4 separate regions of the Homo sapiens genome follow, and all the other regions are linked to region 3. The links are contacts of gene promoters, found by promoter capture Hi-C in blood cells and fetal thymus (Javierre and others, 2016). All regions are on one chromosome and are shown on one strand. The core of a region is centred on a gene start or on the middle of the fragment in contact, and the rest is flanking DNA. Distances in the headings are between cores, read along the strand shown. Region 1 overlaps NSG1 (neuronal vesicle trafficking associated 1). Region 2 overlaps LOC112268462 (a long non-coding RNA gene). Region 3 holds the start of TMEM128 (transmembrane protein 128). Region 4 overlaps STX18 (syntaxin 18).

Region 1 (3,333 bases), core at 831-3,330, 170 kb before region 3:
AGACCCACCACCTGTCGCCCACCTCCAGCTGCTTTCGAGAGGCAGTGGCTCACCAGCCTCCAAAGGAGCAATCCAGGGTGGGTGGGGGTACTCCTGGCAGGGTCAGGCCAGCTCTTCATGTCCAGGGATGTACATGGGTAGCTCGTTGGCCCCCACCGAGGGGTCAGAGCCTGGCCCCTGCTTACAGAGGACACTACAGCCATCCTGTTGAGGGGACTGTTTCCCAAGCTCAGTCCTCAGGGTTGGGTCACCACGGACATCATGTTACTGGGAAACACAAAGCTTGCGGTCACACTCTGCTCGGGGCCCTTAACCCTGGGACAGAAGGGAGTGATTCCGAGAGTTGTGTTGAGGGAGAATTGTGCAGGACCCAAATGATGGCCAAACAGAGGGAAATATAACCCATTTGTCTTCTGGTGGATCTCAAAAGCCATCTATTCAAGGTAAGCACAGATGGAACGACACCCATAGTTACAGCCAGGATCAGGAGAGCACGTGGGAAGAGGGGGGCATTTCAGGGCTGCTCAAACCAAAATCCTGTGTGATAAAAACACCTGTGCTCCCGTCCCTGCCCAGGCCATTAAAAACAACGCTGGCTTCCGCGTGTGGATCCTCTTCTTCCTCGTGATGTGCTCCTTCTCCTTGCTCTTCCTCGACTGGTACGACAGCTAGCCAGGGCCACGGGGGCCCAGCACGAGAGTCCTCATGGGCACTCACAGACTGCGTGCTTTCATGTACTTCCAGTGCTGGAGCATGGTATGACCAGATTTTATCACAGTGCCATTTGAAGGGAAAGGAGTTCAGACAGACAGACGTATTCCCCAAAAAGGGATACCCCAGGCCGATGGTGTTCAGCCATTTAGCAGCTGAAAAAGGAAACAGTGCACACCAATGGGAGGCAGCCTGCGTAGCCCTCATCAGGCAAGACAGACTGAATGCAGGAGTGGGTGATTAGCTGCTCCTTGAACTTGAGGCTGCCTTGGCAGCAGGGGCACAGCAGGCCTCAAGAGCCCCTAATTGTCTCAGGGTTCAAAGGAAGACACTGACCTTTCCCATCCCGGTAGCTTCAGGGAAGATCATAGTTAATAACGTCTCTCAACAAATGATTACTTCTTTGTTTCCTTGTGGCTTCTTGTCTGTCTGAGTCAACGAATACACAGACTTACTGGATTATAGAAGAGAAAATTCACATCTGCCTTGTTAATCTAATAAATATAATTACAGCCCCTTAATGTGTTGTCAATGAGTCTAAGTTGACAAATTCAGTGGCAGCCCAGCCACCTCCTATCAATCAATCAGGGAAGAAATGCAGGGGAGACTGGGGCCCTCAGTGAGGGGCTGCCTGGCATTACTCCTCCAAAGACTGCTGCCCCCAGAACAGGCAGGGGGTGTGGGAGGGCCAGTTTCCCGCCACTGGGTCCAAGGAGCCTTTGTTCAAAGGAAGAAGTGGGCCACGGAAGAACGGGCCTGCTTCTCTCGTGCCTGTGCTTCTGACCTCCAGGAACTGTAAACAGGAACACCTATGTGTAACTGAAGGCATGAGACATCTGTACAGGAAGCATCCCAGCGCCCACATGGGCATGAGACAGTCTGCACTGCGCCTGGTGAAATGCGTGTGTGTACAGACAGTCCACTGGGCAGCACAGGTATCCTCATGTTCTTTATTTGCACAGAGTGAAATGTCAGAAGTTACATGTAAATGAATTCACAGTCAATAAAGTCCACGTCTACCTGGAAATACAGGCTCGGCCTCTGCACTGTGCGCACACGGGCTTCACTTGTGTCTATTCAGATGCGCAGGGAAGCTTTGGCACTGATTTATTGCTCTTGAGTCATTTTCCACAGCTTAACACCACCCTTCTCAGCACACGCCTCTGATGCACACCGCTGCGCCAAGGTCACGGTCTGTGTCTCCAGACACCCTTGATGAGAAAATACATTTTCTGTCTTAGAAGCACATTTCAGGAAACAAGAGTGGCGCTGACCACGGTCACCATGCCTGTTCACAACACATCTCACACTATTTGTCGTTTATTTCTGATCTAAAAAACTGAAACTTTTGACACGTACACCAGAAACAACACATTCAATAACATAGAAGAAATGTCTGCGAATGTCTTTTCTATTTGTTTTACACACTTAGTTCATCTAACTGGCAGTTTTGTAAACATAAACTTTAATATCAAGATTCAAACTGGAACAATTTTCTTACAAAGATTGTGAGTTGAAATTTGTCATTTTGTTTGCACGGTGCCACACCAGTCCCCCACCCCCACCCCACAGCCTTTCCTGCCTGTTTCCCACATCAAGGGATATCAGTTTCATAGAATAAAAATTAAAGTAGCTCAAGCTTACCAGAAATTACATTTCCACTTTTCCCACCCAGCTCATTTCTTTAAAAACTAATGGGGCTATTGGTGCAAATTTATTCATAATAGAAGTGAACCAGAGGGCCAGTGGGGGCTCTTTCCTATCAGCACATCACAGAGCAGACAGACTACCTGCAGGGAGAGTTCTGCACCTCACGGGCCCAGGGCCGTCTCTTCCCAGCCCTCTCCCTCACATGCTCTGCCAGTCTACACACACTGGAGCAAACCCCAGCTGTCTCCACCCAGATGGGTGGTGCCCCTCCCTCCTTACCAAGATGCCAGAGTCAGAGGGGAGGGAGTAGTCAATCCACACCGAGCCTGCCACATTGCAGGGCCGTCCCACCCCGACTCAGGAGTCAGCACAGGGAGGGGTGGGGGGGTCTTTTTCCTCGTTCTCTATGCCACTTACTTACTACAGTGCACCTTGGCAGCAGTCAGCACTGTTACCCGCTGATGGCCGAGGAAGAAATGCGAAGTAGGCTTGCTCTTAGCACAGCGAGAGATCACTCTAGATATGGCTATGGAGGAAGGTTTGCAGACAGCAGGGTCGGTTCAGAAAATCAATTCCACAAAATGCATTTATCTGAGATCCAAACCCTTCGCATATCCAGTGTAAATTTATTTTTTTACAGCATCCAATAAATCCCAGTAAAGGAGCTAAATGAAGATCTTAACATGAAAAGTGGTGTCAGAGCTCTTTAGGCAATGCTGAAATGCACTTGATTTTATGCCCGTGGGTGGTCGGCAGCAAGTTTTATTTGCAAAGCAGCATTAGCAAACAGAAGCAATTGCACCGTAAATGAGTAACCTCTAAAGTATCAGTAATTATATTTAATGAAATGTCCCTCAAAGTCCCTTTGTTATTTGCAAGTGACACATTGTAAGGAACTTGCCCATCCCGCTAAGCTGACTTCTCAGCCGCTTCAGTCTCCTGCTCGGACAGCTTCTCTTCTGACAGAACTGA
Region 2 (2,979 bases), core at 82-2,581, 140 kb before region 3:
AGCAGGGCCTCACTCCCTCTACAAGCCACAGAGAAGAACCTGTTCTTTCCCCCTCCAGCTTCCAGTGGCTCCAGACATTCTTTGACTGTGGCTGCATCACTCCAATCTCTGCCTTCATGTCACTCCAGTCATATTGCCTCCTCCTCTTCTCTGTGTCTCTTATAAGGACACTCATCATAGGATTTAGGGCCTGCTGGGATAATCCAGGATAAGGTCTCCCTCTCAAAATCCTTAACTTAATCCTATCTTTGCCATATAAGATAATGTTCACTCTTTTACTATGTAAGGTAAATCAGGTTCCCGGGGTTAGCATGTGGACATATCTTTTAAGGGTCGCCATTCAGCTCACTACAGGCATTAAGCTTGCAAGGGTGTGGTGATTTGGAGAACCCAAGTCATTCACAGAGGGTGGCAGAAATTAGGTTGAAGAAGCCACAGCCACCAAAATGGGGATGGCTGAGGCTGCAATGGTGGTTGCAGGTCAAACAGATGTCAGGTATTTTCACAACATACAAAAAGGGAAAATCAATGGGATGCGATCTCCCCCTGGACCAGTTTCATCCCAGCACCAACAATTTAAAATCCAAGTGCCACAGAAGATTGTTGACACATACTCAGTTTTTCTAAATGACTCTTTTTTTTTTTTTTTTTTTGGGACGGAGTCTTGCTCCGTCGCCAGGCTGGAGTGCAGTGCCGTGATCTCAGCTTACTGCAACCTCCGCCTCCCTGGTGCAAGTGATTCTCCTGCCTCAGCTTCCTGAGTAGCTGGGATTACAGGCACGTGCCACCACTCCCAGCTAATTTTTGTATTTTTAGTAGAGACGGAGTTTCACCATATTGGTAAGGATGGTCCTGATCTCCTGACCTCGTGATCCACCTGCTTCAGCCTCCCAAAGTGTTGGAATTACAGGAGTGAGCCACTGCACCTGGCCCTAAATGACTCTTTTAGGAATACTTCCAGGGTTGCTGATCTCAGGCACAGACCCATCACTGCCTGTACGATTGTAACTCCTACCCTGCTCCCTCTCCTCAGGGCAGCCAGGCGCTGCTCTCTAATGACCCTGGTACTTCCAGGTCCAAGCGTTTTAGCAACTTCCCTTGTCCCACTGGTTGAAGTCCAGACTGTCACAGCAAGAGACAATGTGACACAGTGGCTAAGCCGTGGCCCGATTTTGAATCCTGTCCCTCTCTTCCTAGCAGTGTGACTTCAGGCAAGCTGCTTAACCTTTCTATGCTTCAGTTTCCCCATCTATAAATGGAGATAATGAAACCTCCATCAGAGCAGTGTTGTGAGAATCAAATGAGCTATTCTTATTTTTTTAAGTGCCTGTTTTAGGTATTACTATTGCTTTGACCTCTAATTCTGTACTCCTGTGGTCTCTATTCTTAGCAGCCGGTGCTGGAGCCAGGGCGAGGTGATAGACACTTTTCCTGGTTATGTGACAAGTGTTCAGAGTGACTAAGGTGACTCTTCCCCTAGAGGCCTCATGAGCCTCTTTGCAGGTCACAGAAGTCAAATGATGAGTCCCCGGCCACAGGCTTCCCTGCAGAGCTGGGATGGGTTGCAGGATCTAGTCAGGCCTCCCACAGCCAGCCAGATCTCCAGGATGGATGAGGTCCTGCTGGGAGGGTGGCCACCCAGTGCTGTCAGCCTATGGAGGTTCAGTGGCAGGTGATCAGCAGAGGTTCTGCTCTGTTTTTCTGCAGCCTGGCCACGTCGATCCAGCGATGCTTCATCCAAATGTCTTGTTTTTAGATTGAGATGTAATTCACATGCCACAGATATCACCAGTTTAAAGTATACGCTTAACTGGTTTTAGTATATTTACAAGGTTGTACAATCATCACCACTAATTTCAGAACATTTTCATCACCCCGTAAAGAAACCTGCATCCCACAACAGTCACTCCCTGCACACATCCTCATCTCTGATGGTTTTAAGTTTCTTGGGTCCACTTCTCAATCCACGGGACCAGCCGGCACGCTGGGACCAGCCGGCACACTGGGATCAGCCGGCACACTGACACAGAATCGGGAGAGACATTAGGCTCTGGATCTTTCTGCAAATGGGACAATCCATTTGCAATGTGAAGAATCAGCCCACCTGGGTGAAGTCATCCCTGTTTCTCCTTAAACCCTGTCCTGTAGCCAAATTCTCCATTCCCCCAAGTGCCTGCCTCCAGGCCTTTGCAAATGCTGCTTCTCTTGCCTAGATTGCCTTCCCCACTCCTCATCGATTTTGCAAACTGCTCCTCATCCTCCAAAGCCCAGATCCAATGTTGCCTCCTCTTTGAAGCTTGGCCTTTCTTTATGCTCCTCTATCCCGGAGTCTGGGTATTTACATTTCTATATAGATCATGAGCAAATCAGGCAGAACCACTTAATCTTTCATTTCCATATCCCCCCTGTCTAGAGCATGGCCTGGTAATCAGGAAATGTTTGCTTAATTGAATAGGCATCCACTTAGCTTACATTCACAGTAAAGTAAGACATGAACATCAGAGGTGTAAATTCGAATTCAAGTGCATAGTAAGAAAGTCAGGTCAGGCCTGGTGGCTCATCCCTTTAATCACAGCACTTTGGGAGGCTGAAGTGGAAAGAACCCTTGAGCCCAGGAGTCTGAGAACCACCTGGACAACAAAGTGGACCCCCATAAAAAAAAAAAAAAAAGAAAAAGAAAGAAAGGAAGGAAGGGAGGGAGGGAGGGAAGAGAGAATTAGCCAGGTGTGGTAGCACAAACCTGTGACCCCAGCTACTCAGGAGGCTGAGGTGGGAGGATCGCTTGAGCCCAGGAGTTTAAGGCTGCAGTGAGCTGTGATTGCACCCTGCTCTCCAGCCTCAGCAACAGAACAAGAACAAAAAAAAAAAAAAAAAAGAAAGAAAGAAAAGAAAATTCATGGTCTAATTAAAACCGAAGGCAGGTTTGCCCATGACATCGTTGTGATGCTCTCTTCTTAGAGTTCACCTTACTGCAAAATA
Region 3 (3,100 bases), core at 220-2,719:
AGCCTCCAGAGTAGCTGGGATTACAGGTGCCGGCCACCATTCCCGGCTAACTTTTGTATTTTTAGTAGAGACGGGGTTTCGCCATGTTGGCCAGGCTGGTCTCAAACGCCTGACCTTGTGATCCGCCCGCCTCGGCCTCGCAAAGTGTTGGGATTACAGGCGTGAGCCACCGCGCGCGGCTGGCACTCTTTTCTTGAGTATTTCTTATTACATTCCTTTTACAAACACCCCAACACATCGAAGATATTAAACAGTGCCTACTAATTCAAATTTTACTTCCTATGTAGCTGGCTCTCCACCCCTGTATTCAACTCACCTGAAACCACTCTCCCTGCTCTCCCACACTGCAGCAGAATAAACTGCCCTTTATATGTACAGTGTTTCTATTATGCCCCATGTACAGTGTTTTTATTATGGCACTGTATTGAAGCTGCTTCCTCTACTAGATTCTTCTGTCCTCACCATTTTATCACATGCAGCTGCTCAGAAAATGTTGGCTGCATTGATGAAATGCTTTCATACATTTACAAATAGAGTTTTCTTGTAATATACCTCTGTGGTTTTCTTTGGACAAGGAGCTCCTCACGTGCAAGGCCATGTCTTACTCATCTTTATCTCCACTGCTAGCATGGTGCCTAACAGCTCCTACCAAATAGTAGATGCTCAGTAAACGTTTGCGTGGCTAAGCCCACCATTTCTCAGCACATGACACGCTGGGAAACGGCTGGGAGAGTAATACGCGGGATTATTGACGAAGAAAAAGTTGTGAACTCGTAACACACAGTTTGTGGGCGTGAGCAGTGTGGAAAACCGCAGTTTGCTGGGAAAGCAATTTAGTTCCCTCGGTTCAGGCTGGGAGGATTTTTCACAAGTGGCGAGGAGGAGGCTCACATGAACCACATACAGGTACTTCTCACTGAAACGCACAACAAATCTAGAGCCAAGTGTAATAACGAAACGGGCCCCAAGAAGTTTATTTAATGCCCAGGGCCCCCAAGTGGTCACTGCCAGGCTCTAGCATCCTGTCCAGCAGGCCTTTCTCCTCCTTTCAAGTCTTGCTGGACGACTCCTGAAAAGCAAAAGTAGGAAAAAAACTGGGGGCTGAGAGTGGAAGGCTGGACAGAGGGTATGTCTCCTGCTCTGGCACCCGGAAGCCTGCGAGGGCTTCGGAAGCGCAGCGTCTCACGGTCGCGCATCCCGGCCCTGGACGCATCCAGCGGCAGCGGTAATCCTGGTCCTCCTGGGCTTCCGTAGGTCGGAATAAACTTGGGAACTCTTCCACCGGCAAAGCTCAGTGTTTTAAAATTCAAATCACACTTGCCGACATGAGAGCGGAACCTTTGAGGCCGACTCCACCCTAGCTGCTCGCTAACTAAACAGCGAAGAGAACACAGTCTCCAATCCAAACGCCAGGAGGTCCAGACCCGGAGCGGACGCCGGAAGCGCTGTGTCTGACGTCACTTCCGTCGCATTTCGGGGCGGTACCAAGATGGACTCCTCGCGGGCCCGGCAGCAGCTCCGGCGGCGATTCCTCCTCCTGCCGGACGCCGAGGCCCAGCTGGACCGCGAGGGTGACGCCGGGCCGGGTGAGGCGCGCACCAAGCCGCCCCGAGGTTCTCAGAGGCGAGGCGTCGGAAAACGGCCGGCCTCCGGCAGCCCTGGCCCAGTCTGGAAGGACTGAGTTTCGGCTTTGCAAGTCGAATATTTAATGTCAGGGAAGATCCTTAGAATCGCGGAGTGCTGTGCATCGTCATTTCAGCTGCGCTTCAGAATTCTCTGGAGAGCTGATTTGACACCTATTTGGAAATAGCGATTAAAATTAAAAATACCCACCAGTTTTAAGTCTTAAGGATTTACCAGAAACATGCGTGTACCGCAGTGTACAATGATGTGCGCAGTGTTTCACTTCAGGATTGCTTGTAATAGCGAATTACTGGAAATATCTGCCTTGCCCGTCAGCAGAAAGCTGTTTAAGTAAATTTGGGTATATGTATACCTGACACATCAGGTCGACTCGTATGTACCAATGGGGATGATTTTCAAAGGGAAGTGTGGAACACTATGGTATGCCGCCATTTGGGTACAAAACAGGTAACTTGTGATGTATGTTCACCTGTGAATGCATAGAATATGGAAGAATTCAGTAGAAATTGTAAGTGGTGGTTGCTTCTGGGGATTAGATCTGAGGTTAAGGATGGGAGACAGATACTTCATTTTGGATATTTTTTATCTCATATGTTTTAAAACCACGTCCATTTATTACCTTTTAAAATTAAAAACACGAATAACCTCATGCCCAGGCATGATGATGTATACATTTTGAGGATATCCCAGAATATTACGAACATGCTTCCCAGGGTTTCCGATGGTCATCTAAAGGCCCAAAACCTCAGATGTGGACCATTGATTCTCACGTGAACCTAGAGGGCATGTCAGAATCCCCGGAAAACTTAATAGAAATCATCCATCTGACCCAACCCCCATCCACCCATTCTTTCAGATTGCGTTCCAGACAGGAAAAATGTCTTGTCCATCACCTGTCTAGACAGTGCTGTGCTGGAACTAGAGCTCTGGTGTGCCGTTTCCACTTTTGAGCTGTGTTTAAAGTAACTAAAATATTTAGTTATAGGCTGGGCAGGGTAGCTCACGCCTGTAATCCCAGCACTTTGAGAGGCTGAGGCGGGCTGATCACGAGGTCAGGAGTTCGAGACCAACCTGGCCAAATAGAGCAGCCTGGCCAAGATGGTGAAACCCCGTCTCTACTAAAAATACAAAAATTAGCCCGGCGTGGTGGCAGGCGCCTGTAATCCCAGGTACTCGGGAGGCTGAGGCAGGAGAATTGCTTGAACCCGGGAGGCGGTGGTTGCAGTGAGCCGAGATCAAACCATTCCACTCCAACCCGGGCGACAGAGGAAGACTCCGACTCAAAAAAAAAAAATTTAGTTATAAAAGTGTTCTTGGAAGACCACAAGTCCAGTTCATGCGCTAATGTTTGCCTTTGGCATTTTTCCTAATTAACAAGACTAATTACTTTCCTAGAAGAAATGTGAAACATAATATTAAAATTCTTACATTTCCAGGTGACATTGTTATTTCCGAA
Region 4 (3,165 bases), core at 219-2,718, 210 kb before region 3:
ATGGAAATACTTCTTATAAATTCTCCAATAGAGAAAAATAATTATACCCTAGTTGAATTTTAAATAATCCTTGATGCTTTGTCTACTTGCACTTAACATCCATAGGCAATTTTATGCTTTTAAATGCACTTCATTTGCATTATTTTGGAATATACTAAAATAATTATTCCGATGCATAGTACCAAGAAAACCTTATTTTTAAGCTCTGAGTTAAAAATAGTTGGTTAACACTAGATCGCAGTGTCAATTTTATTTCTAAAGGTGTGTATGTGTATCAAATACTGATTTGATAGGCTGTAAAAAATGGAAGCTACAGTGATTTTGTAAAACTTTACAAAACTTGTATAAAGCTCTCAATTTGTAGCTTCTTTCTTTAGTATCTGACAAGTTAGGTTGACGAGGTGGTTGTAAATATCTTTCATACAAATCACTTATTAACTTCCCTTTTCCTTGAAAAGAAATCCAGCAAAGTAAATGCTTAGAGTGTTGGTTTGATTCACACCACTCCTTACGAACCATGTGAATCTGTGAAACTCAGTGTCTTCCTCTAATGCTACAGGTCAGCAAATAACAGCCACAGGCCAAATCTACATTTTAAATATACTTTTAAATGTAGTTACATATTTTAATGTTGGGGAAAAAGTAATAAGGATATTTTATCACATGTGAACATTATGTGAAATTCAAGTTTCAGTGCCCATAATAAAGTTTTATTGGCACACAGCCACGTTCATTTGTTTACATATTGTCTAGGGCTGTTTTTATGCTACAACAGCAGAGTTGAGTAGCTGTGATGGGCTACAAGGCCCACAAAGTCTAACATGTTTACTCTCTGGCCCTTTTCAGAAAAAATTTGCAAAGCCAACAGTGGGAGGGATACTCACTCAGGAAGCAGTTGAGAGGTTCAAAGCAGACAGTATGATTCAAATGCAATGTGAAAAGAACAACACAGTGGCATCCGGGTGTTCTTCTGCAACTTTGCAGTTGTTTTAAGCTTTCGATGTAATAGTGATGTTAAGGCAGTTATTATACTCAAACAGCAAAAGGAGGCTCCTGCACACTGTTTTTCAGTGTTCCCAGACTACTGCAGCATGGATTCTCATCTTAGTACAGTAAAGAAGGGCCTAAGCCTTCCCCTTTCCCAGCTACAAGGGCAGCAAATGCTAGGACTGAGGATTGGGTTCCCTAGGGGCCAGTGCCAGCTCTGCCACTTAAGGGCAGATAACTTCAGAAGATAGAACTGTTGTCCCCGAGGCATTCTTCATTTTGTTAGGTACATCGCCTCATTCTAGAAACTCAGTCTTTTTTTTTTTTTTAAGGTGGTTTTGCTATGTTGTCCAGGTTAGCTTCAAAATCCTGAGCTCAAGTGATCCTCCTGCCTCAGCCTCCTGAGTAGTTGGGACTATAGGCATATGACATGATACCCAGCTAGAAACTCAGTCTTTTATCTTTTACTCATTTTCCCGAGGCCAGTTGTTCATTGCCAACTCATGCACACTGAATTCTACTCCACCCCCTGTTTTGGTCCCTGTGAAAGAGCATGGGCTTTGGGGTCAGTCACACCTAAGTTCCAGTCCCAATCCTGCCATGTATTTATCATGTGAATGAATATAACTTGCCTTTGTGCTAGTTTTCTTTTTTATAAAATGTGGATGATGTTCTCGTGAGGATTAAATTAGGTGGGTATGAGAGTTCCTGACACATAGAAGTCTCCTGGTGAATGATAATTGAATTGGAACCCCATTTGACCTATGCTGCAGTTGCAGGGGGTTGGAGGGTGTTGGTTATTGAACAAGACAAAACCCACCTCTGTTTCCTGCCAGAGAGCTGGGAGGAGGGAGAAAGAAAGAAATGGAGGCAGGAGTCAGATCAACACAGTGGAGACCCACGTGTCATATCAGCTTTATCATTGGTAAAATCTAGGTCAGCAAACAAAGCTTTGGTTTGCAGGCGGGTGGCCTTGTTGATACTCTGCTCTTGAATTAGACACACTCAGGCATTAGTGCCACTGCGCAGCCGCAGCCCCTGGAGCACAGACAGCAGGGACAGGCCCCTTTGCAACATAGGAGAGAGAGGAACAGAGCGGAACCTCTGCTGTCTCTAAGTAGGTAAAAGAGAGGAGAGAAAGGTGTGGTGACTATATGCACACCCCATGCTTTCTGCGAGGGGGCCAGAGGGAGGAGGCTCTGGGAGGAGGCAAGGTGTCATTTGGGGAAGTTGGTTCCCACAGAAACATGAGGATTAGGGAATAAGCATTCCCCCCGGTAGCCCAGGTTCTGTCCAGGTGGAGAAAGACCACCCTTATTGTCTCTCATCAAGTTCTCCCTCCCAAAGGTGGTAGACTGCTTAAAGCCTTTCTTTTTTACTCTTCTGCCCTCCCAGTGCAATGTGCTAGCCTTGGCCTGCTCCTAGGAACATTTTATGTGGAGTATGATCATGGAATTGAAAGAATATGTGTAGAAATACTGCCTTCAGACCTATGAGGCTTTGTTAGTTTGACATAATTAGGAAGCTGTAATTTTTTCCAGAATGTAGAGCTCAGACTTTATTGACCCATTTAATTTTTTTTTAATAATGACATTTTACTAGAGCAGAACAGCATGTAACCTAGATAGCCTGTGGCTAGATCTCTGAATGATTTTAATTAAAAATAATGTCTCCACTTCTGGTAGATGGACTTTTTCCACAATATCCTGGCAACAAAACAATCTGGGAGAAAAAACTTCCTTGGTTTCTGTTGTTCTTACTAATAGAATAACCATACTGTCAATTTTCAATTTAGAAGGTTAATGTATATATATAATGTTTCCTAAAGGAACATTACCTTTTAATTAAATAATCAGTTTTATCAAATTAACCTTTAGACCTTTTCAATTTCACTGAGCTGAGTTTCCATTAAATCAAAATATAGAGTAGGAGGATGTTAATCGAATGTTCTTGGAACTAGTCATTTCTAGGTCTGTTCTGTCTGCAGGGTACATATTCACTGAGTTGGTACCTTTCTGACTCATTTGTCCCTGACCCCGTTAGCCTCTATTTCCGATGAGAAGGTTCCTAGTAGGGATGAACCTAAGGCTTTGGCCCCTCTGCTTGCCACTCTGGCTCCTCCCCAGAGGGGAGCCATTCATCTGGTGTTGGAGGTGGGCTGGGGTTGGGGAGAGGGGA

The links. Contacts are between HindIII fragments. The CHiCAGO score rates a contact against its expected background, and 5 or more counts as called.
Region 1: a contact is called between a fragment that was not itself captured here and the fragment with the promoter of TMEM128 in region 3, in 4 of 17 cell types (naive CD8 T cells, total CD8 T cells, naive CD4 T cells and 1 more). The highest score is 7.0, in naive CD8 T cells.
Region 2: a fragment that was not itself captured here is called in contact with the fragment with the promoter of TMEM128 in region 3 in 2 of 17 cell types (total CD8 T cells and naive CD8 T cells); the score reaches 6.1 in total CD8 T cells.
Region 4: a contact is called between a fragment that was not itself captured here and the fragment with the promoter of TMEM128 in region 3, in 4 of 17 cell types (naive CD8 T cells, total CD4 T cells, total CD8 T cells and 1 more). The highest score is 7.4, in naive CD8 T cells.

Annotation. Positions count from the first base shown.
Region 1 is chr4:4,417,373-4,420,705 of GRCh38, reverse strand. It overlaps NSG1 (neuronal vesicle trafficking associated 1), which reads right to left. Exons shown (of 5, transcript NM_014392.5): 5 at 1,648-3,333. The coding sequence ends at 3,271. STX18 (syntaxin 18) reads left to right here. Exons shown (of 11, transcript NM_016930.4): 11 at 577-1,738. The coding sequence ends at 672. Among named protein-coding and RNA genes, the nearest start is that of NSG1, 32 kb to the right of the region's middle. The HindIII fragment of the contact is 545 bases long and covers 1,808-2,352 here.
Region 2 is chr4:4,381,733-4,384,711 of GRCh38, reverse strand. It overlaps LOC112268462 (a long non-coding RNA gene), which reads right to left. Exons shown (of 3, transcript XR_007058004.1): 3 at 103-190. Among named protein-coding and RNA genes, the nearest start is that of NSG1, 3.9 kb to the left of the region's middle. The HindIII fragment of the contact is 1,934 bases long and covers 365-2,298 here.
Region 3 is chr4:4,246,592-4,249,691 of GRCh38, reverse strand. It overlaps TMEM128 (transmembrane protein 128), which reads left to right and starts at 1,469. Exons shown (of 5, transcript NM_001297551.2): 1 at 1,469-1,586. The coding sequence starts at 1,490. RefSeq lists enhancers at 1,089-1,198, 1,501-2,127. The HindIII fragment of the contact is 7,732 bases long and covers 1-3,100 here.
Region 4 is chr4:4,460,845-4,464,009 of GRCh38, reverse strand. The region is part of intron 2 of STX18 (syntaxin 18); the gene reads left to right. Among named protein-coding and RNA genes, the nearest start is that of STX18-IT1, 19 kb to the left of the region's middle. The HindIII fragment of the contact is 943 bases long and covers 997-1,939 here.